Linked DNA regions of Homo sapiens: regions 2, 3, 4, 5, 6 and 7 are each linked to region 1. Evidence: promoter capture Hi-C in 16 types of primary human blood cells and fetal thymus (Javierre and others, 2016). All regions are on one chromosome and are shown on one strand. Each heading gives the region's core, a stretch centred on a gene start or on the middle of the fragment in contact. The rest is flanking DNA. Distances are from core to core; before and after follow the strand shown.

Region 1 (3,206 bases), core at 259-2,758:
GTGCAACGGGAGCCACGGGCGGCCAGTAGCCCTGTCTGGTGCTAAGTCCATGGTCCTGGCTCCCTAAAACGATGTGATAAAGAGAAGGAAGGGGTGAAGCAAACGCAATGATATTTACAGGGATTAAGGAGCGCCAGCAAAGATTCAGCTGACGGCTTGGTCTGAGACCTCTGCTATTTCAAAGAACCTCCAGTCCGGCAAAAGCAAGTAGCATCAGCAAAAGACTCTAGGTAGCCAGTTGAACGCGGAGTGCAAGAGAGATGCTGTGGCGAAAAGCGGCAGGGCATTCCGCGGGACACTCCTGTGAGCTGAGTTCCCAGAAAAGTTTCTCAAGCCTCTTATATATGCCCCCTTTTACTTTGTTTTTGAATCCAGATAGTCTGAGCGTTTTCACCCGGGTGGATGAGAGTTGGGAGAAGTTGCCTGTATCTAAGGTATATGAGGAATCATTGCAAAGAACGGTCTTCAGAAACTTTAGAACTTACCCGCAGCGAAGAACGTGAAGAGGGAGGAACAAACGTCCAAGCACAACTGCGCACCGGGGAAGGGGTGGTGGGGAACCGGGAGAATCGAATTTCTTTCCCAAAAGCTGGAGGCGATGGAATTCCTGGAGTCCCCACTCCTCAAAAACCAGGCTGCAACGCCCCTCCAACAGGGCGCCGGCAGTGGCCGCTGAGGCCCAGGCGGCGGCGTCTGCGCGCAGGCAGTTCGGGAACTGCGTTCCAAGCGCTAGCGTTCGCGCTCTGGCTCCCGTACCCGGGAGCGCTCAACTCTGCCCCTTCCCCTCCTGCAGCCGCCGCCGCCGCCGCCCCTGTTGCGGCTTCAAGCCCGTGGTCCGGCACAAACAACAGCCAGGGCTCCTCGGCATTTTTCACCTCTGCCGGGGCGCCTGCCGACCCATTATTTGTACATCCAAATCGAACGCAGTTTCCCCTTTCTTCTCGGCCTCGCAGGGGTCGGGCAGAAACAGCGTGCGGTCCCCGAGTCGCCCTCCCCTCACCATGCCAGGGGGGGTCGTTCTCCGGCGGCCCCAGTCAGAAGCCCACTCTAGCGCGCCTCGCCCCTGCCCTCGCTATCTCTGCTTTTATTGTCCCGTGTCAGTTTCACTTTGTAATCCACAAGGCTTTTTGTTTGGGGCGGGGGGTGGTTGATGCCTCTCTCTCCTTCACAGTTGGCAGCGGAGGCGGCGAAGTCGGCGCTGGGCTGTAGTGACGCCCTCCGCAGCTCCGGACGGCGCCTGTCAGCGCTCTCCCTCTCGCCGGCCGGGGCCGAAGGTTGGACTGCGGTGGAGCTAGGGCTCCGCGAGCCCTTCTCCACCTCCCGCCTGGTCCCTCACACTCTCCCCGCCCCTTCCCCGCCGCACAGGCATGCACACACACACACATACACACGCACACACACACACACAGCGCGTCGCCGAAACACAAACAGAGGGGGAGGGAAGACCGCGAGCTGGAGCAGCACTCAGAAACTTTGCTCGACACTCATTGATCCCCGCACTTTAGTTCGCCTGGACTCCCCCTAGCTCCCAGTCCTGTCACCTTCTGCCCCTCCCTCGCCCCAGCCCCATTGGGCCGGAGCTGAAGCAGCCCCGACCGGCACTCCTACCGCGAGCGCCCTCCGCCTTGCCCGGCCTCCGACTGGCTTCTCGGGATGCTAATCACTTCAGCCTCCCGGAGGGCTGTAGGCGGTCTGGTGTGGGAGCACAGCGAGGCGGAGGCGCTAAAAAGGGGGGTGATTTTTTTTCTTTTCTTTTTTTTTTTTTTTTTTCCTTTTCGGCCAAATCTTGGCCGGCGTCAGAGCAATAACAGCAAAAGGCTGCCGCAGAATAGATGGGGGTGGGGTCAGGTTTGCAGATAAATAACTTTAGTGGCAGGGTCTGGGGGAAGACCGTTAGGTTGTTATGCTAGTAATAACTCAGGGGTAAGGGGGTCGAGAGAAATAAAAGAAAGGCGGGGGGTGAGGGTCTGTTAAAGCGGGGAGGAAGGATTAAGCAAAGCCTGTCTGGGAATGCACAGTGCAGATTTGCTTTAACCATTTCCTGCCCCTTCTCTCTTTATGCAAGGGATAGAGCTGCCATACAGTGTGATCCCACAGAATCCAAATCAAATCCTCCCCTTTGCTCCTCTTTCTACACAGTGGGCTCCCTGCTGTCTAGGGCGAGCTAAACTCTAAATCTTCACTCACTTGCCCCTCTCCCCCACCTTCCAGGTGACTAGGGGGCAGGAGGCCTCCGTAGCAAGGGCACTTTGGACTTCCTACTATAGGAAAGGCCAGGGGAACTCAGTGTTTGTTTTGTTTTCTTTCCCAACTGGATTCCAGGTGCCAGTAGCCCAAACCTTAGGGTTTCAACAACAATAATAATGGCAGCCCTTTGAAAAGAGGGAGATCTTTTCCTGTTGCAAAGTTAGTTTGGAATTTTGATCCCTGATGGAGTATTTCCACCTCCACATTTTTTAGTCAAAGGAAACCTAATAAAGTTTTATTTTGCTTTTCAGTCTGGGAGAAATAGATACGAGAAAGTAGAAATAAATAAAATAATATTTAAGCTTAAGTTTTTAAAAATACCCACATGCCACTTAATGCACTCAGATCAACTCACCCACTATTCACTGCAGTTAATTTTTGTGGTGGCATGCATCGTTTCTTTAAAAGAAGAAAAACGTTACTAGGAATCAGATCGATATTTTTCCCCTTTAAGGGAACCAACCTAGAAAATAAGAATTCAAGCCAAACAATGCAAATACAGGGCATATGTCATACATTTCTGCCACAAGGATCCCTCACAAACGTAAAACTTTCTGCGCCCAGAGAGGGTTCAGTCATGAGTAAATACTGCCCTCTGCTGTTCTACGTCAGTCTTACATCTTTAGTCTCCTGGTTTCTTGCTTAAAATTAAATGCAGAGACTAAAAGGATCGGATTACAAGGCTAATTCCTGCTTCTTGCCTAGGGATAGCAGCAAAGAAAACGATCTCTAAGACTTTCCTAGTGCCTTTCTTATTTAGAGTAAAAAAAAAAAAATCAAGAATAGTAGGACAGACAGCAAATTCAAGTCTTGATGATGCAGGCAGCCTGTAACTCAAAACTGATTTATGGAAACATGATTTCTAAAGCTATCACCAATTCCTCTGTTTAGGTTAAAAAGCTAACTTCTACATATTCCTCTACTGTAATGTAATGAGTTAACTGGAAACAGACAAAAAA
Region 2 (3,206 bases), core at 377-2,876, 2.5 Mb before region 1:
CGTCCAAAACGTTTAAAATTTCAATAGAAGAAACGTGTACATCTACGAAAAAAGGTATAAAACCTTCTAGAATCTTCTTGGAAAGAAATCAAAGCACAGACTGCTTCAAGTGAGCTACTCTTCAACATCTTTTTGCCATATTTTAAAGCTTTCCATAGAATAGTAAATGAGGCATTTAAAGACCATTGGACACTGACCTTGTTTTAGTATAGTTAAGGTATTATATTTTGGACCATTCAGAACGGTCAAATTAAGATGCCAAATTACCTTTCCATAAAAAGTAATATAGGTTTCATACAGTTGGTTTCCTCATAAAATTACCAGTAACAGCAGCCTATAAGCAGCAACTAGTTTTTCATATTTCAGAATTACTTCATTATATTCCTTGCCAACAAACTTCCCAGGCCAGAGAAACAACGGAACATGTGGAAACATGTTTCCATGACATAACGCCGCTCCTCCTAAGCCTTTCATTAAGCGTTCATAATAGAATCACTCCACAGTCATGTTTATACGGGACAGCTGCCCCCGACTCCGGCAATTCACTCTGCAGAAACACGCTTTTGGTCCGACCCAACCCCGCCGCATTCCAGCAACTGACGTAGTTACCAATGCACAAGGCCAGTGACTCCCATCCCGAGGCTCTCCCTATCAATGCACCATTGACCTGGCCCTGTAAACCGGCTCCATTACCTGCAGTTCTCAAGGGCACTGGGTTTTGTAAAACCCCACATGCCTCACTCCCCGCCCTTAAAAAAAAAAAAAAGGCTTTCGGGGCCAGATGAACCTGCAATTCATCTCTGACGTGTGCAGCCGAAGCTGACTTTTTACTTTTCTGAGAAAAAGCTGTCACCCAGAGGGACGGGGAAAGGAAGGAGGGCAGCTGGCGCGGGGCCGATAATCCCACGTAAACCTCGTTAGAGGCAACCGGAGATCTTTCTCAATATTCCGGACGCCAGGGGCTGTCCCACAGCAACCTCTTCCTCGCAAGCAAAAGAGGCGTTGGGGGACAGCGGCACGAGGCAGGGGACGTGCGTAGGTACAGAAAAGAGAGCTGCGCAAACTAGTGCGGTCCCTCGTCCTTGAAGGAAAAGAAGCTTTGCGGGGCGAGGAAGTCCGACTGCCACCCGGCGGTCTCTAGGGACTGCGGTTGACGGGTTGCACCTGTCATCTCGGGGTTCGGCGCACGTTAGGGGAAAATCCGAGGAAGCGAGCAGACAGGACAAACGTTAAGGACGGGAGAGAAAAACGTTTCTTAGGGTCGAGGTGATGCTCAGCAGAGGCACTTACGGGGTACACCTGTCGCTGTACTCATTGGCGATGGTCTCGATGCCGCCACTTCTCGCGACAGCAATGTAGCAGTTGAGAAAGCCGAGGTCAATGCCAACCACAGACATCCCGCCGCGTGATGGTCGGGCTGCTGGTACTGAACCCTTCGGTACGGGAACCGTGTCCTCTTCTGGGCTATTGCTGCTGGGATTGCGACTCCTACCAGAAGCAAACGAGAGGGGACCCCAAGTCGCTAAGCAGAAAATCTAGGGCAGGGAGTCGGAAACCCGCGGAAGGAGCAGAGGCCGTCAGCGCCGCAGCCTGCACCGCGTCCCGCAGCCTGGGTCTTTCCCTACTGCGGTTCGGCCGCCTCCAACCGGCGGTTACTGGGACCTGCGCCTGCGCGCTCGGCTGCCCGGGAGGCGCGCGAGCCTCCGCTCCGCGCCCGAGCCAGCTCCGGGCCCGGACTTCGGCCGCTTCCGTCAGCACTCGGGCAACGGCTGCCCAAGAAGCTGCGGGTTCGAGAAAGATCTGGAAAATGGAGGCTGCTGAGCTATCCGGGGGCGGGAGAAGCGGGAAGGCGGGGCGGGGAGGATCGGGGAAAGGAGGCTAGGCACATTGGCTTGCTCGCCCTCGCTCGGCAGTAGGACGTCGGGCGGTCGGGCTAGGTGAGAGGCAGGCGACCGGCCGGCCCGGGGCTTTGCGAACGTGTTTTGAGGCACATTTTTGGGTTGTTTTGGCAACCGGAGGCGTGCTTGTCACGGCGGCAGGATGCTGTCCTGGCTGGCGGGCGCCGCCCCCTCACCCCCTGCCCTCAGAAGGGCTCGCCCGCAGGCCTCGCCTCCCCGAGGGGCCCATGTGCAGCCCGGCGCCCTCCCCTTGTGGCTGGAGGCCCGCCGCGCCCGGCTCTGTGAGGTGGCGCGCATTGTCCGACGTCCGCCGCTCCGCCCTGTCCAGCCCCGGGGGAGCTGCCGAGCCCGGGACAGACTCTTGTGCGAAAGCGGGATGAGCACATGTTAGGTTTTTTTCTTTTTTCATCAGCAGGATTTGAAATATCAAAAGTCAAACTTCTGTCAAGAAATAAGATCACACTGACAACTTTCCCTCCACGTACCTTTCCTCACACCTTTCTAAAAGATGCTGGCCCCGCCGCTGACCCTTGTCTCTGGAAACCAGTTTTACAGGAAAGTGACCTTAATTAAGTGTGCCACTCACACCAGCCAAGTCTGTGCTTTAGCCTCCAGCCGCTGCCCTGTGGTCCTCAAAAAAGAGCCCAGTGTGGTCCAGCGCCCTCCCTCTTGGTTTGATCGGCATGTGTTGCCTGTCTGTAATTAACCAAGTTTTATGTTACACTTAAGAAATTTGGCTGTCTTGTTGCTTTTCGTTCACTTTTACGTGTGTGCCCTGTTCCTTCTCTGCCAGTCCTTGGTCTGTTCCCTGTTCCTCCCCGTCCTCTTCATCTAGTCTCTGTTCCTTCTCATCCAATTCTTTGTGTGTTTTCCTGTTCCATTTTGGTATCCATCTTGAAAACAGGCGTGTTTTTTTGTTTGTTTGTTTTGTTTACTAGATTCTTTAGTATTCTGATTATCCCTAGTTGTCCACTTCTTTAAATAACTTAGATTTTTTACTATTAATAATGTTGCTACAGCAGCAGCAGCAGCAAGGGTGGCTATAGTTCCTGCTGCTGTTAGAATGAACGTGAAATCCATTTTCAAGGGCAATACTGAGGCAACTGGATTGTACAGTATTGCTTGGGCTCTGGTCTCTACATTGAAGAAATCAATCAGGCCTCTCTTCCCTTCATGAGCACTCAGGAGACGTGGAGCCCCTGGGTGAAGCTGCGCTCTGAGACACCGCAGAACTCGGCGTCCCAGCGGGCAGCTCGTGAGCAGAACAGGGATTGGGCGTTGCCCTGCGACTGAACCCTGGGCCCTGGT
Region 3 (3,206 bases), core at 512-3,011, 2.4 Mb before region 1:
GAGCTATGATCACACAACCTCATTCCAGCATGCGTGACAGAATAAGAACCTGTCTTCAAAAAAAAAAAAAAAAAGAAAAGAAAAAAGAAAAACTCTCTGAGGATTACTAGCCAACCAAGACTTAAAATCAGGCTTTCTGTCTGACTCCAAAACTCTACTCTAGGCTTGGATTTCTGGAGAAACAAATCACAGAAAAGTTCTAAAATTATAATAGATGAAGCTTTATTAAAAAAAGAAACTGCTGTAACAATTTTTGAACAGGAAGATAATGAAAAAGTTCACAAATACATGGAAATTAAACAACATGCTCTTAACAACCAATGGGTCAAAGAAGAAATGAAGAGGAAAATTAAATCTTGGGATAAAATGGAAACACAACATACCAACACTCACAGATGCATCAAAAGCAGTTAAGAGAGAAGTTTATAGCAATAAATGCATATGTATAAAGAAGAAAGATCTCAAATAACCTAATTTGATACCACAAGGAGCTAGAGAAAGAACAAACTAAGTCCAAAGTTAGAAGAAGGAGAGAGATAATAAAAATTAGTGTTACCAAAATGCCAAGGGTTTAGTCTAGGTTCTGCTGCTTATTGCACAGAAAACCAATCACAGAGACGATGAGTACTGCCAGGGAAGAAGGCTGTTTTGGGTGCTGTGTCTGAGGAGAACAGATCAATCTCAAATCCATCTCTTTCATGCACTAAAATTAGGAGTTTATATAGCAGAAAAGAAATGTAACTATGTGTGGGAAAGCAAGAATTAGGGAGGAATAAGAAGAAGGACTTGGTCAACAGGTAATCAATCAGGCAGTCATGACAGGCGAAGGGTTAGTGTCTCAATGTCCAGATGTGGTGATCTGGTAAGTTTCAGTTCCTCGATACTATCTGGGAGGCCCAAAGGTTGGTTTCCTGAGAAAGGAACTCAGATATGACAAATACGAGTTTCTCAAGTTTTAAGACTGAGAGGTCAATTTCTTGGTTTATTGATGAGAAACAATAAACATCAGTTCCATGGGCCAATTGAGCTGGTTTCAATGGCAGAAATAAATGAAATAGAGACTACAAAAATAATAGAAAAATATCAGTCAAACTAAGAGTTTATTTTTTTGAGATCCAGTGCTGGTTGGTATTTTATTAGAAGAAGATAAACAAAATTGACAAACCTCTAGCTAGACTTAAGAAAAAAAGAGAGGAGAGTCAAGTAAGTAAAATTATAAGTGAAAGAAAAGACATTACCACTAACATACAGTAATACAAAGAGTTGTAAGAGATTACTATGAACAATTATATACCAAGAAATTAAATAACATATATGAAATTGATAAATTTCTAGAAACATATAATCTACCAAGTCTGAATCATGAATAAATTTCTGAACAGACCAACAATGATTGAATCAGTAATCAGAAACTTAACAATAAAGAAAAGCCCAGGATCTGATGATTTCACAGCTGAATTCTACTAAATTCATTTTACAAGGCCAACATTACCCCGGTACCAAAGCCAACCAAAATACTACAAGAAAAGAAAATTGCAGGCCAATATTCCAATGAACAAACATGCAAAAATCCTCAGCAAAATACTACCAAATTGAATTCAATATAATGATAAAAGGATCATTCACCACAATCAAGTGGGATTTATGCCTGGGATGCAAGGATGGCTCAACATGCACAAATGGGTAAATGTCATATACCGCATTAACAGAATGAAGGACAAAAATCATATGAGCATCTCAAAAAATGCTGAAGAAGCATTTGACAGAATTTATCTTTATGTAATAAAAACTCTCAACAAATTAGGTATAGAAGCAATGTACTACAACATAATAAAGGCCATATGTGACAAGCTCACAGATAACATACTCAGTGGAGAAAAGTTGAAAACTTTCCTCTGAGATCAGGAATAAGACAAAGGGATCCACTCTTGCACTTTTATTCAATATAGTACCTTAAGTTCTAGCCAGAGTGATTAGGAAAAAGAAAAGTATCCAAATTAAAAAGAAGTTAAACTGTCTCTGTTTGCAGATGACATGATCTTACATACAGAAAACCCTAAATATGCCAACAAACTATTAGACTAATAATTCAGTAAAGTTTTAGGATATAAAATCAACACAGAAAAATCAATCACATTTCTATATACTAACAATGAACTACCTGAAAAAGTAATAAAACAGTATCATTCACAATAGCATACACGAAACATTAGGAATAAATTTAACCAAAGAGGTGAAAGATCTGTACGCCAAAAAGTTTAAAAAACTGATGAAAGAAACTGAAGAGATATCCAGGCATTTGGAGCACCCACTCACCTAGATGAGCAGCCTGAGCCACCCTACCCTTTCTGTGCAGAGATTGTGGTGCAGTGGGGCCCTCTCTGCTTTATACACAGGCAGATCTCCAGGCATTCAAAGAACCTGCTCACCTGCATTGGCAGCCTGAGTCACCCCACCCTTCCTTTGCAGAGATCTGTGTGGAGGAGGCCTTCTCAGCTTCACACTCAGGCAGGCAGAGTACCTACTTGCCATGATCAGCAGCCTGAGCTGCCCCATCCTTCCTGTGCAGACATTGTGGTGAAGTGGGGCTGTCTCTGCTCCACAACCAGGCAGATTTCCAGGCATTCTGACCATCTGCTCTCCTGAATCATCAGCCTGGCGCATCCTTTCTCCCAGTAAATAGGGGTCAAGTACATATGTAGCTGTGTTTGCCTCAGTTGACTCAGCTGTACATGCTATCTACTGGCCTGTAGGTTGGATCCCATAGCCCAATATAAAACCTGCTGACATACATGCATAGGGCTATAGAAGCAAAGTCAAAAGCCCCTGTCCAACATTGTCTACAGTTACACCCCCAAGGGTTATAGAGCAAAGTCAAAAGCCCCTACCCAACACTGTCTACAGTTACACCCCCAAGGGAGGAGGGGGAAAGAGAAAAGAAAAAACCCCAATAATGTTACATAGAAAAAGAAAAAAAATCCTACCTGCATTAAAATGACTACAAAAATTGGAAGCACTAGTGTCTCCAGTTGAGAAGGAATAGGGCAAGAAATCAGGCACCACAAAAAATGTGAATGTAATAACAACACCAAAGGATCACACTAGCGGTCAAGCAATGGTTCCTAGCCAAAATGGAAACTCAGAAATGACTAAGAATTCAAAGCATGAATTGCAAGGAAGCTCAATAAGATCTAAAAGAAGGTTGA
Region 4 (3,206 bases), core at 520-3,019, 2.3 Mb before region 1:
TTTGTTTTGCAAAAGGAAATCTTGTACTCCAAGATTCCTGGATATATAGCACATAATTTGATCTTTAAAAATTTTATTTACCCACATTTTGGAGGGACTATATTTACTTTGGAAATAGGGCACATCTAGAACTTTTTTCTTCCCCTTTAATTTTGCTAATATGCTGAGCAACTCCTAGTTCTGATAACTACCAGAGAAAGTGAGGAATTTAGGGTAACAGCATTCACTGACAGGGGAGCTTCTGTCACAGAATCCTGAGAGTCTCTGGGACCTTGAAAGAGTGAAAGAAACTTTCATGTCACCATACTCCTCGCAATCCTACAGTCCATATCTAATTGCTTCCACTGACATTTGACTGCTCCAATATTTTGTCTTCCCCTTAAGCTATTGACATTATCTGGAACCTGCCTCACCCTCAGCCTGCCTGCCTGACTCTTCACTGTCAAGAGGCCTTGCTACACACAGTTTCTTTAGCTTTCTCCTTTTTTCCCTCAAAACATTCTGTCTTGTAATCCCCTGATCAACATCTTCAGAGACCCACTTGCATATTTCAAACTGAGTATGTATCCTTCAGCCTGGTATTTAGGACCCTCTATAATTGGCTGTCTCTGTATAACCTCTCATGACTTATTTTATTCTCTACACTCAAGTCAAACTCATCAATTTGCTTTTTTTTTCTTGAAAATGTGCTACATTTTCTCAACTTTTCACATTTTCTCTTGCTGTTCTATTCACCAGGAATACTTTTTTTCATTTTCATCTGTAAAAATTCAAGCCATCTTCCAGATACATCTAGATGCCAAGTTCTTGGTTACGCCCTCCCTGTTCTCATTTGGATGTCACATCCCTTTCCCCCCCTGAATTATGCACTCAGCTTATGCCTTTACCAGGTCTTATATTAAGACCTACCTTATATTAAAGCTATTTTATATTTTTCTTGAATTCTGTTCTTGAGGACAGAAGAGTATCTTAATCCAAGTTTTGTCTTGTTTTTTTGAGACAATCTGGCTATGGTGCCCAGGCTGTACCACAACTCCTGGGCTCTAGTTATCCTCCCACCTCAGCCTCACGAGTAGCTGGGCCACAGAGGTGGTGTATAGTATTATTTTTTCATGCAATGTCTAAAACAAAGCTTGACCCACGGTAAGTGATCAACAAATATTTGTTCAGGCTGGCCTGGGCAAAGCAGTGAAACCCTGTCTCTATAAACAAACAAACAAACAAACAAACAAAAAACAAAACAAAAAAATTAGCCGGGCATGGTGGTGTACACCTGCAGTCCCAGCTACTCAAGAGATTGAGGTGGGAGAATCTCTTCAGCCTGGAAGGCAGAGGTTGCAGTGAGCCGTGATCGTGCCTCCGGCCTAGGCGACAGAGCGAGACCCTCTCTCAAAACAAAAACAAACACACACACACACAAAAAACAGAAATAAAATATTTTTTGAATTATTTTCTGATAATGTGGGGTGATTTTAAAGATTGATTTTCAACATAACACATTTCTGGAAACCATATTATAAAATAGATTGTTATAAAGTAGCTTATGTTTTGTATTGGAATGATATAATTCTCAGGGGCTTGGTATGTGCCTGATCATCAATTTTGGCATAATATTACCAACAATATGTTTTAAAAAGCGAGACTTGGCCAGGCATGGTGGCCCATGCCTGTAATCCCAGCACTTTGGGAGGCCGAGGCAGGCACATCACCTGAGCTCAGGAGTTTGAGACCAGCCTGGCCAACATGGCAAAACCCCTTCTCTACTAAAAATACAAAAATTAGCTGGGTATGGTGGCGTGCGCCTGTAATCCCAGCTACTAAGGTGGCTGAGGCAAGAGAATCGCTTGAACCTGAGAGGCGGAGGTTGCAGTGAGCCGAGATCACACCATTGCGTGATCACGCCCATCCAGTCTGGGTGACAAGAGCGAAACTCCGTCTCAAAAAAAAAAAAAAAAGGGCAAGCCTTTAAATTCAATAACTCTCAATAGTCATTTCCTCAGACTGTAAGTATAGTGTTGATTATATAGTGTTTTGAAACTGGGCAGAATCACACAGAATCACCTTTTCCAAACTTCCTCAGTTTATGAGATGACAAAGAGGTTGAATGACTGCTCAAGGTTTTACAGCAGGTTAGTGGCAGAACAGTGATTAAGACTCAAGTTTTCTGATCTCAGTTAAATAGCTTCTTCAGGACTTTATCATATCTCTTTAATAAAGTTCACAATACGAGTTTAAAGGTACTTTACCTATTTATTATACCAGGTTCTATGACAATTGCCTTCAAGTGTAAATATAGCTCATAAAATATTCCTATGGACCTATTCCTAGGGTCTCTGAATGTGTCTCCTCAGAATTCATATGTTGAAACCTAGTTACCAAAGTGCTGGTATTAGGAGGTGAAGCTTTTTAGAGGTGATTGGACGAGTGCCCTTGTAAAAGAGACCCCAGAAAGCTGCCTTGCCCCCTCCACCATATAACACAGTGAGAAATTGGAAGAGGGCACTTACCAGAACCCAGCCATGCTGGAACCATGATCTTGAACTTCCCAGCCTCCAGAACTATGAGAAATAAACCTCTGTTGTTTATGAGCCATCCAGTTGATGGTATTTGTTATAGCAGTATGAATGGACTAAGACACTTACGTTGTGTTTTTCTTATCTAAATGTTATTTTAGTTTAATATAGTTGTGTATTGCTTAACAATGGGAATGCATTCTGAGCAATGCTCTAAGTGAGTTTACCATTGCATGAACATCATGGAGTGTATGTTCACAAACCTAGATGGTATAGCCTACAACATACCTAGGCTATATGGTATAGTCTACAACATACCTAGGCTATATGGTATAGTCTATTGCTCTTTGGCTACATACCTGTATTGAATACTTTAGGCAATTACAACCACTGTGTATGTCAACATAAAAAAGGTACAGTAAAAATATGGTATAAAAGGTAAAAATGGTACACCTGTATAGGGCATTCACTATGAATGGAGCTTGTAGGACTGGGAGTTGTTCTGAGTGAGACAGTGAGAGAGTGGTGAGTGAATGTGAGGGCTGAGGACTTTATAAACACTGTACCCTTTGGCTACACTAGATGTATAAAAAATATTTTTCTTTCTTCAAAATGAATTAACCTTCACTTACTGTAACTTTTTTTTTACTTTATATGCTTTAAAATTTTTTTAAATTTATGATCTCTTTTGTA
Region 5 (3,206 bases), core at 386-2,885, 2.3 Mb before region 1:
AAGGACATATCAAACATGAAAAAGGAAGAAACATGTCACCTTCATAGGAACACAATAATTCTGCAATAACAGACTCCAGCAATAAGAAAATATATTAAACACCAGAAAAAGAATTTGTGTTAGGTCATTCTTGCACTGCTATTAAGAACACCTAAGCCTGGGTAAGTTATAAAGAAAAGAGGTTTAACAGGCTTACAGTTCCACAGGCTGTACAGGAAGCATAGTGCCAGGATCTGCTTGGCTCCTGGAGAGGCATTAGCGAAGTTACAAGCATGGCAAAAGGCAAAGGGGAAGTTGATGTATCTATCACATGGCAAGAGTGGGAGCAAGAGAGAGAGTAGGGAGAAGTTGCCACACATTTTTAAACACAAAACTATTGCAACTGTTTTGTTTTGTTTCATTTTTGAGAAGGAGTCTTGCTCTGTTGCCCAGGCTGGAGTGCAATGGTGCAATCTCTGCTCGGTGCAATCTCTGCTCACTGCAACCTCAGCCTCCTGAGTTCAAGCGATTCTTGTGCCTCAGCCTCCCGAGTAGCTAGGATTACAGGCCTGCACCACCACACCTGGCTACTATTTTGTATTTTTAGTAGAGACGGGGTTTCGCCATGTTGGCCAGGCTGGTCTTGAACTCCTGACCTCAGGTGATCTGCCCGCCTTAGCCTCGAAGTGTTGGAATTACAGGCGTGAGCCACCGTGCCCGCTGCAACTGTTTTTATTTGCTCTTTGGGGCCTGCGGGACTCCCTTGGGCAGAGGTCTGGCCGAGAGATAGGCCACGCCCTTACAAGACCAGCCTGTGGAGGGAGGCACGCCTAGGTCCCAAACCAGCCCGCAAACCTGTGTGACTCAGCTCTCTCAGTTTTCTGAGAGTGTGGCCTCCTCCTCTCCAACTTCCAGCGCTGGGCATAGATCTCGGCTTGACACTGCCAAACCAAGGGTGGTAGACCTGGGGGAATAGGACCTACTCTTGGTCCCCTCCTTCAGACCTAGGGAGTTGAGTTCCAGGTGTGCTGGGGAATCCAAAGGGCTCCCAAGCTGCCAGAATGCACTCAGCTGGAGCAAAGCACCCATGCTGGGCAGCAGAGGCTGCACTGCGTACACACTCTTTTGGGGCAGCCAAGCAGGAGCCCTGGGAGGGGCTGGCGGGCAGGTGGGCTTGCAGGGCACACATGCCCTAGTCCAACAGGGAAGCCAGCACTGCTTTCTCCATGGTGGTTAGCTGGGGCCAGAACTTCTCAGAGGGAGACGGAGAGCCCCGGGGATGGACACTTACGGCCTGGCTCTGCTGGAGCTGTCCTGTGCACAAAGGTCCCTGGCTCCATGCCTGCTATATGTCTGTCTTCATTTAATCTCCAGGAAGATCCCCCTATACCAGCTCAAACATCTGTGAGGACTGTGGGGTCCCCTGCAGCTAGGATGCCAGAGGTCCATGGTGAGAGTAGGCATTCCCTCAGTTCCTTCACTGACTCATTTCCCAGGAGTCAAACCCAACCCTAGCATTCAGGCACTCCACATGCGGTTCCCAGCTTCCTCCTTCTTCAGCTTCAGCATCTGTATCTTTTCTTCGTCCACATTTGGCATTTTCTCTCCAAAGATCTGTTCAAATTATGTTGATTTGGTTGAAATACCGTTGTCTCTCCGTAGGAGCAGCACTTCCCGCCTGCATCTAGTCGGCCATCTTGCCCACCCTCCCGGAATTCTTGGAAAAGGAGTCTTTCTGCCAGATGCTGACCTTTCTTCATGCTAGTAGGGTATATAATAAGGTAGTTTTTCAATTTGAGAGGCATATCTGAAAAGAGTTCTCTCTCCAAATTTTCCTTGGAATTGAAATTAAATTTATAACACTTGCCTGAACTATTACAGCAATATAAACTTAATACTTCTTTGTCAACCTAAAAATTTAGGAAGAAAAGACATTTTCGTCATGTATGAAGACAAAAATGGTTGTATTCCTATGTTATGGGTTAGTCACTATCTTCATTTAGCTCAAGGTGAAGAAGACTGAGAAGAAACGTCAAAACCCATTCCCCCCCCCCCCGCCCCCCCGTTTTCCATTCAAAGGGGAGCAAGCTGTCCTTCTAAGGGAAGAAGCCAGCAGGACTCCCTCCAGGCAGGCTGAGAGGAGACAGGATTCTATTTCTTCTTAAAGACTCACAGCTCACATTTTTCTCTTTTTAGCTACATAGCTGGACACAGAATCTTTAGAGTTGAGAGTCTTTACAAAGCTGGCTGGGTAGATTTCTGGCCCAGCCTAATATCTTCTGTCCTCCTTCACTTTCCAGGATCAGTCAAACACATGCCTGAATTTAAAATGTTACCATCAGTTGAAGTAGCTAAGGCTCCTAATTAATGTGTTTATTAGACACATTTCTTAGAAAGGGATTAATAGATTTCCTTTTATTCCTTGATCCACTCTTCATGAATATTTCACTCTTTCATTCATTCATTCAAATGACAAATATTTACTGAGCTTCTACTGTGTGCCAGGCATACATCTAGACTCTGGGGATCCAGGTAGTAATAGCAACAACATCTTTCTCATCATGGAACATAATTTATAGTGAGGGCCATGGACAAGAACAGACATGCATGTAATACATGGGTGATATGATTTGGATATTTGTCCCCTCCAAATCTCAAATTGAGTTTATTTTGCTCTAATAGTTTAAGCAAGTGTTGTCATGGGGGTGGATCCCTCATGAATGACTTGGTGACCTCCCCAGGGTAATGAGTGAATTCTTGCTGTTAGCTCACATAAGTACCGGTTATTTAAAGGAGCCTGACATCCTTCTCTTGCTCCTACCATTGCCATGTGATACATCAGCTCCCCCTTTGCCTTCCACCATGATTGTAAGGTTCTTGAGTCCTCACCAGAGACTAAATGGATGCCGGTGCCATGTTTGTACAGCCTGCAGAACTGTGAGCCAAATATATCTCTTTTCTTTATAAATTACCCAGTCTCAGGTATTCCTTTATAGCAATGCAAAATGGATTAACACAATAAATATTAAAGGTATGGGGATAGAGAATGATATCATTGTGGTCAGGGAAAGCCTTTCTGATAGGAGATGTGAGTGAAGTGTCGGGGAAAGCTATGTAAATATGTATTGGAAAGGCATTCTAGGAAGAGAGAACAAGTGCAAAGACCTTGAGCTGAGATTGTGCGTGGCCTATGGAATATCAAGGACAGTATTGAGGCTGGAGAGGAT
Region 6 (3,206 bases), core at 408-2,907, 2.2 Mb before region 1:
CCTACCACCTGCCAAGGGCGAGTCAGGCGTGGAGTGGTGAGCGGTGTGTGAACCAGTGTGGGATTTAGCCACTGCACAGTCATGCGGGCTGCTGCAGTGGGGTGGGCAGCTCCAGGTGCTGGCATGGGCACCGGCTTTCAGAGAGTCTGTGGCCAGACCAGGTGCACTGCAGGCAGCTTCCATGGCTGGCACTGGAGAACACAGTGGTGCCCAGAAGCTTGGAGATGCCAGAAACTGCAGGGCCCCAAAGAGGGAGTCACAGCCCTGGCTTGGGGAGCTCCCAGGTCTGGGCTTCCTAAAGGGCTGCAGCTCACCTCTTGTTCTTTTGGCCCACATGTGGCAAGCAAGGGGCGTGTTTCAGCCCTGTTTGTGTTGCAGGTTGTCTTTTAGACTTGCCATTTGGCAGGTCCTGAGTTCTTGTCTTGCAACTGGGAAGAATGAGGTATGCAGACAAGTAAAGGGTGAACAAGATGAAGAGGAGATTTATTGAGTGATATAACAGCTTAGAGGAGACTCACAGGGGGCAGCTGCTTTCTGCAGCCAGGGTGTCCTGTTGAATGTTCAACTCCCAGCTGAGAGGGTAGCTCCTCTCTGCAGGCAGGTTGTCCCAACAAGTGTTTAGCTTCCAGCAGAGAGGGTGGCTCCTCTCTGCAGCTGGTCACCCCATTGTCCGTCCAGCTCTGCCTGAGCATGGGGCTTTTATGTGCCTCAGAGGGAAAGAAATGCATGCTGATTGGTCTATGGGCTGCTATGGGTGGGCCTGAAAAAGGCATCACAAGTTCCCACTCCAGTCTGTGGGACTGGGTGCCAAGCCCCCAGCCTTCAGGCCCTCCCTGGCTTGAAGGTAGGGCTTCACTGGGACTGCCCCCTTCCACCTGGGTGCCTATCTGCCTCCTGCCACCATCCATGGTGCCCAGGCTGCTTATGCCAATGGGCACCTGCAGGCCAGCACTGAGCTGCCCTCAGTGTCTCCCCTTGGCTTTCCCCCGACCCTATGCTCATTGTTGCCCAAAGTCAGGAGTGGGCTGAGGCAGCAGGGAACTGGCAGGTTTCAAGTGTGCTGCCCTGAGTGTGTGCACACCTGGATAGGCTGTGACAGTGCCTGAACTCGGCCCCAACCCCACTTCAAAATTGGAGAGTGTGCCAGGAGCAGAGAGAGGCCAGGTGGAGGGAGCAGACACCCCCAAGCCTGCAGGGGCAGTAGGGGCCTTCCCAGGCCCCCCAGGTTGCAGAGTACAGAGATGCCCACATACTGCACCTGGGAGGGCAGGGCTCTTTCACCTGCTCTATGGAGCATGCAGGGATCCCCAGCTGCACTTCCTCACAACCTGGGGTGGGGTCTCCAGGTCCTCGCTGGGCCCCTCTCTGCCCACCCCTCTTTGCCAAACTTATGCTGCTCCCCTGCTGGCAGGCAACTCTGCCCAGCCCCATTGTGGCAGCTACCAGGGTGGTGGGCTCCAAGGAGACTCCTGCTTGTCCCTGGCTCCTGCTGGCTCCATGGAGTGCAGCACCACCCCAGGCCCAGCTCCACCTCATCCCAGCACCCTCCCCACAGTGGCTGTAGGCAAGAGTGATGAGAGTCCAGAGTGAAGGAGGCTCTGGGCCTGGGGATAGGTCCTGCCCTGCCACATGAGGGTAGGAGTGGCACAGCCAGCTGCTTTGGGCATGTGAGGCACAGGGAATCTACACCGCCATTGCTGATCCCACAACTGCTCCTGCCACCACTGCTCACACCTCCCCACTGCAGCTGGCATGATGGCAGCAGCCGATCCTGACAGCCTGCCATGCCATCATGGCCACATGTGGGTAATGAGCACTTGAAATGTGGTTAGTGCAACTGTGGAACTGAATTTTTTATTTAATTAAACTTAAATTTAAATAGCCACATGTGGCTGGTGACTAGTATCTTAGGCAGCACAAGTCAAGACAATACTTTCTGTTGATAATTACCCACTTCCCAAACAGTAAAAACTGGAGGAACAGACAAGAACAAAGCTGGCGAGAGGCCATGCAGCTCAGGTGGCAAAGGCAAACTTGAAGGCTGCTGTGGGTGTAATGAAGGTCCGTGTATCAGTCCGGGCCCAGTCAGGAGAAACCACCCAGTTACTTATTTATTTTTGTTGAGGCAAAACTGACATAATATAAAACTAATCATTCTAGAATCAATAACTCAGTGGCATTTACTATATTTACAAATGTTGTGCAACTACCACTTTTTTCTAGTTTCAAAATATTTTCATCACCCCAAAAGAAAACCCCGCACTTATTAAGCAGTTGCTCCACATTCATTCCTCTCTTTAGCCCCTGGAAGGCACCAGTCAGCATTCTGTGTCTATGGTTTTGCCTGTTCTGGATATTTCATATAAATGGAATCATACAATATGTGGCCTTTTGTGTCAGCTTCTTTCACTTTCTAGCAACACTATTTGTAATAGCCAACAGGTGGAAACAGCCCAAATATCCATTAATGGATGAATGGGAAAAAATTGGGGTACATACATATAATGGAGTATTATCCATTGAAGGATGCTTGAGGCTGGTTCTGAAAGTGTTGGAAGAACCACAAACTGGATTCAACCACTGCTGTGGGAAGGTACTGCTGCTGTTGCTGAACTAGGAAGTAGGAAGACAGCCAATAGAACTAACAGGAAGTGGACAGGAAGGATCATGTCTCTTTTCCCTACTGCAGCCTTACAGTCTGCCCCCCTGTTAGAAAAGCCTGACAGTAGTCGACTGGCAAAGCAGACTGTGGTTTGCAGAGTTCCAGCCCCAGCATCACAAATCAGAGTAAAGAGGGAGTAGTTTGGGAGCTAAGAAACAATAATTAAGAAAGGGCATAGTCCATACAAGAAAAGGACTCTGGGCTGTACTGATAGAGCTTGGGTGTGTAGGGGGGAATGCCGAGATCTCAGATACAGTTTTTTATAACTTCATGGAGTTTCATCCTTACTTTATTCTTTGTTAGATGTAAGAAAAGGATCTACCTGGCCAGTGCACATTGAAATATAATGTACTAACATATTTATATACTTGAATTTTCAGGTAATTTTTTGTTCTTTTCCAGACTGTAAAAAGAAGATGTTTACTGGAAGCTTGTAGTAAAGTTAGAGTAGCTCTGTTCCAATGTTTGACCATTCAGAGAGGAGTCATACCCTTCTTCACTTCACAAGGTATCTCTCACCTTCATTAAAAAAATTGAAATATAA
Region 7 (3,206 bases), core at 258-2,757, 2.2 Mb before region 1:
TGAGGGCCTTCTTGCTGGTAGGGACTCTGAAGATTCCTGAGGCAGTGTAGGGTATCACATGGTGAGAGGGCTAAGCATGCTAGCTCAAGTCTCTCTCCTTTTTCTTATAAAGTTAATTAATCCATGAATGGATTATTCTATTCATGATGACCAAGCCCTGATGAACCAGTTACCTCTTAAAGGCCCCACCCCTCAACATTGCCACATTAGGGATTATATTTCAACATGAGGTTTGGAGGGGACAACTGTTCAAGTCATAACAACTGGTTTTGATAATCCGTTGGCTAGGCTTTTTAAGAACTATCCTGAGTTTATAGCTATGATCTATACATTATTCAATGTTTAACAATTTTTTTTATTAAAGGCAGTAAATTAAGAAAGCTTTAAAGAAACAAACACACAGAAATAAAATAGGGGTACAAATGTCTACTTAGTGTATGCCATGATAGAAGCATCTGAATTAATGTGAGAAAGTCATAAGTAGAAGATAAAACTTGAGGAGAACAAATTAGGGTTTGCTTGTTAATTTGCCTATTTTGTTTCTTTCAGAGATTTTCCTTGTGAAAACCTTGGTGGTGAAGGGCAGGAGAATATGCTACCCCCAGAATTCGACTTTGGCATAAGGATTATCTTGAGCTGAAGGGAATTGAGAAGAAGCACAAACAAGAAAAGCTGTCTGCCCTCTCCCTATTTGCCTAAAATCAGGAAATAAATATACAAAGATGTACCTCTTTACCTCTCTACCAGGAATGACAAAGTTTGATCAGTGGAGATGACTTTAGACCCTTATCAGCCTGGAGATGGCACAAGAGAAATCTATACAGCAAACTTTACCAACTGTTCTACCTACTATTGGTTTCCCATATAATTGCTTTTCCACAATATGCCACATCTAGACACTCAAAGTCCTTTTCCTTTTTCTTGTCACTTCTCTGAAATTGTATTGTACTTTGTTGAAGATGCTATATAAGCTGAAGTTCTAAGCCATCTTTTTGAGAGTTACTCTTTCCTTTAGTTCTCTCTCATGTATATATGAAATATACATGTTAGTGAACTTGTTTGTTTTTCTCTTGTTAATCTGTCTTTTGTTGCAGGAGGTCCAGCTAAGGACTCTGAAGAGTAAAGGAGAAATTGTTTTCTCCTCTCCTACAGTGGATTTTGTCTTTTTAGTGCAGAAAGTTGCATTAAAGATGGCAACAACAGTCACTCAAGATGGTTTCTATCCACAGATAATTTCATTGATTGGAGCAAAGTTTTTCCAAGGATCATTGTTATGAGCTGAACTATGTTCCCCTCAAATTTATACGTGGAAATCCTAACCCCTAGTACTTCAAAATGTGACTATATTTGGAGACAAGCTTTTCAAAGAGAGAATTAAGGCAAAGTAAGGTCATCAGAATGGACTCTAATCTCACATAACTGGTGTCCTTATAAGAAGAGGAGATTAAGACACAGATATACATAGAAGAAGACCATGTAAAGACATGGGAAGAAGATAGTCATTTACAAGCCAAGAGGAAGAGCCTTCAGAAGGAACCCTGTCAACACCTCTGTCTTAGACTTGTAGTCTCCAGAACTGTGAGGAAATAAATTTCTGTTGCTTAAGCCACCCAGTTTGTAGTACTTAGGTATGGCAGCCCTCGCTAGCAAGCTTACATCAAAATGACACATGAGGCTTGTGAAAAATGACAGATCTATGCATGATTGAAAAAAGAAAGGAAAATATTAAAGAATCTGTCTCTACTTCTAGTTTCTTCTGAGAAAAGTTAGGATACAATTTCTGTCAAAGGATGGTACTGACCTTGTGTAATTTTCATTCTTCAGGAACTATAATCACATTACCATGTCAGCAAACCACACAGATTTTTATTTTGTCTAAAAAAGCATGATTTCCACTCTTTGGAATAATACTGTTAACTATACACGAAGATAAATATAAAAGACAGCGCCACATTGACTGTGGATTCTGAAATTCCCTTTATTACATTTATTCTTGGATTCTCAGACCAAACCCTGGGACTCAGACCAAAGAAATTTTGGTTTAATATGAAGATTTCTTAAAGCTCTGACCTGACAGTCTTATAATTATATTTTCTTCTTGTGTATATCCCTAGATATACAAACAGAACATCTTAAAACTGCCTGATCCAACAAATATTATTAGTTGATTATTCAAGGCATGATGATTCCATTATTTTTGGATCTTTTTTATGGCATGCTAATGTTCTCTATATCTCTTCTTCATGGCTTCTGTTGTTTCCTCTTTTCTTTTCCCACCTCTCCTTCTGTCTCCTATTTTTTTTCTCCTTGTCCCCTTGTATATGTACAATTTCTATAATCCAACTCATAAATCCTTGTGCTAATTCCACTCTCAGTAACTATTAAGATGGAATTCCACACGTGTCACAACAAATATCCACATGTGACAAGCAATTAGTGATACTACTCTCTGAATGCTTTTTGTTTTAGAAGTGTAAATTTACATAAAAAATAAAGCAAAAAAAACCCAAAAAACAAAAAACAAATGTTTGCTTATAAAGCGTGTAGTATTTTTTGCATGATATTAATTTTACAACCACCCAGTGGGAGAAGAGGAAAGAGAGTTCACCTTAAGCGTTTTCAGAGGGTTTTGTAATGTTGTTATAAATTTCTCTAAACAAAGTTAATATTAATTCTTTCTAATATATAATAAATTTTGACTAGAATTTGTAGAACTCTAAATCCTTTAGTCCTAAATTATATACTATGGACTTAATGAAGTTGTTTTATAGCAATGTTCTATAGAGATGATCTCTAAATTTATTACTTGCTGAGAACAGTGATATGAGTGACTACATTTATCTTTATGAGAAGGAAAGAAAAAAGGAGAAAAGACATTTTGAGAAGAAATGAAAGAGGACAGGCATTGTGACCCATAGAAGTTAACCTCCTCCTCATTGAATATTGGGGACATGGAGCCTAGGGCCTGAGAGTAGATGCCAAGGCTGAATGACTATTTGAACCCAGAAGGTGCAGGGAGATAACAACTCAGCTGCTGTGAAACAGAGATTTTATTTGCTTGGTTCCATTAAGCAAATCAGAAAGCTGGCCCTGTGACAGGACTGAGCTACTGACCCCAGATGAATGAGGTCAGCACATGTATTTCAGCTCTGGGAAAGTTGGGAAATGGAAAAAGAAGCAAGTAGATGCCAACATTCTTACATGTG

What was found. The method cuts DNA at HindIII sites, captures the fragments that hold promoters and counts their contacts. A CHiCAGO score of 5 or more calls a contact.
Region 2: the fragment with the promoter of HSPA4L here is called in contact with the fragment with the promoter of FAT4 in region 1 in 1 of 17 cell types (M2 macrophages); the score reaches 5.2 in M2 macrophages.
Region 3: a contact is called between a fragment that was not itself captured here and the fragment with the promoter of FAT4 in region 1, in 1 of 17 cell types (M2 macrophages). The highest score is 8.8, in M2 macrophages.
Region 4: a fragment that was not itself captured here is called in contact with the fragment with the promoter of FAT4 in region 1 in 4 of 17 cell types (M0 macrophages, M2 macrophages, M1 macrophages and 1 more); the score reaches 20.5 in M0 macrophages.
Region 5: a fragment that was not itself captured here is called in contact with the fragment with the promoter of FAT4 in region 1 in 3 of 17 cell types (M0 macrophages, M2 macrophages and M1 macrophages); the score reaches 9.2 in M0 macrophages.
Region 6: a fragment that was not itself captured here is called in contact with the fragment with the promoter of FAT4 in region 1 in 2 of 17 cell types (M0 macrophages and M2 macrophages); the score reaches 14.6 in M0 macrophages.
Region 7: a fragment that was not itself captured here is called in contact with the fragment with the promoter of FAT4 in region 1 in 6 of 17 cell types (M0 macrophages, M2 macrophages, monocytes and 3 more); the score reaches 25.6 in M0 macrophages.

Annotation. Positions count from the first base shown.
Region 1 is chr4:125,313,257-125,316,462 of GRCh38, reverse strand. It overlaps FAT4 (FAT atypical cadherin 4), which reads right to left and starts at 1,508. Exons shown (of 18, transcript NM_001291303.3): 1 at 486-1,508; 2 at 1-63. The coding sequence starts at 51. The HindIII fragment of the contact is 5,556 bases long and covers 1-2,551 here.
Region 2 is chr4:127,780,742-127,783,947 of GRCh38, reverse strand. HSPA4L (heat shock protein family A (Hsp70) member 4 like) reads right to left here and starts at 1,626. Exons shown (of 19, transcript NM_014278.4): 1 at 1,291-1,626. The coding sequence starts at 1,397. RefSeq lists enhancers at 876-955, 564-1,556, 1,456-1,605 and silencers at 1,746-1,815, 2,096-2,265. The HindIII fragment of the contact is 4,318 bases long and covers 1,100-3,206 here.
Region 3 is chr4:127,739,999-127,743,204 of GRCh38, reverse strand. The region is part of intron 1 of SLC25A31 (solute carrier family 25 member 31); the gene reads right to left. Among named protein-coding and RNA genes, the nearest start is that of SLC25A31, 11 kb to the right of the region's middle. The HindIII fragment of the contact is 3,078 bases long and covers 223-3,206 here.
Region 4 is chr4:127,595,103-127,598,308 of GRCh38, reverse strand. No RefSeq gene overlaps it. Among named protein-coding and RNA genes, the nearest start is that of INTU, 36 kb to the left of the region's middle. RefSeq lists a silencer at 241-535 and an enhancer at 1,334-1,503. The HindIII fragment of the contact is 1,270 bases long and covers 1,135-2,404 here.
Region 5 is chr4:127,577,626-127,580,831 of GRCh38, reverse strand. No RefSeq gene overlaps it. Among named protein-coding and RNA genes, the nearest start is that of INTU, 54 kb to the left of the region's middle. The HindIII fragment of the contact is 9,345 bases long and covers 1-3,206 here.
Region 6 is chr4:127,557,042-127,560,247 of GRCh38, reverse strand. No RefSeq gene overlaps it. Among named protein-coding and RNA genes, the nearest start is that of INTU, 74 kb to the left of the region's middle. RefSeq lists a cis regulatory region at 2,870 and an enhancer at 2,786-2,955. The HindIII fragment of the contact is 2,875 bases long and covers 220-3,094 here.
Region 7 is chr4:127,533,438-127,536,643 of GRCh38, reverse strand. No RefSeq gene overlaps it. Among named protein-coding and RNA genes, the nearest start is that of INTU, 98 kb to the left of the region's middle. The HindIII fragment of the contact is 293 bases long and covers 1,361-1,653 here.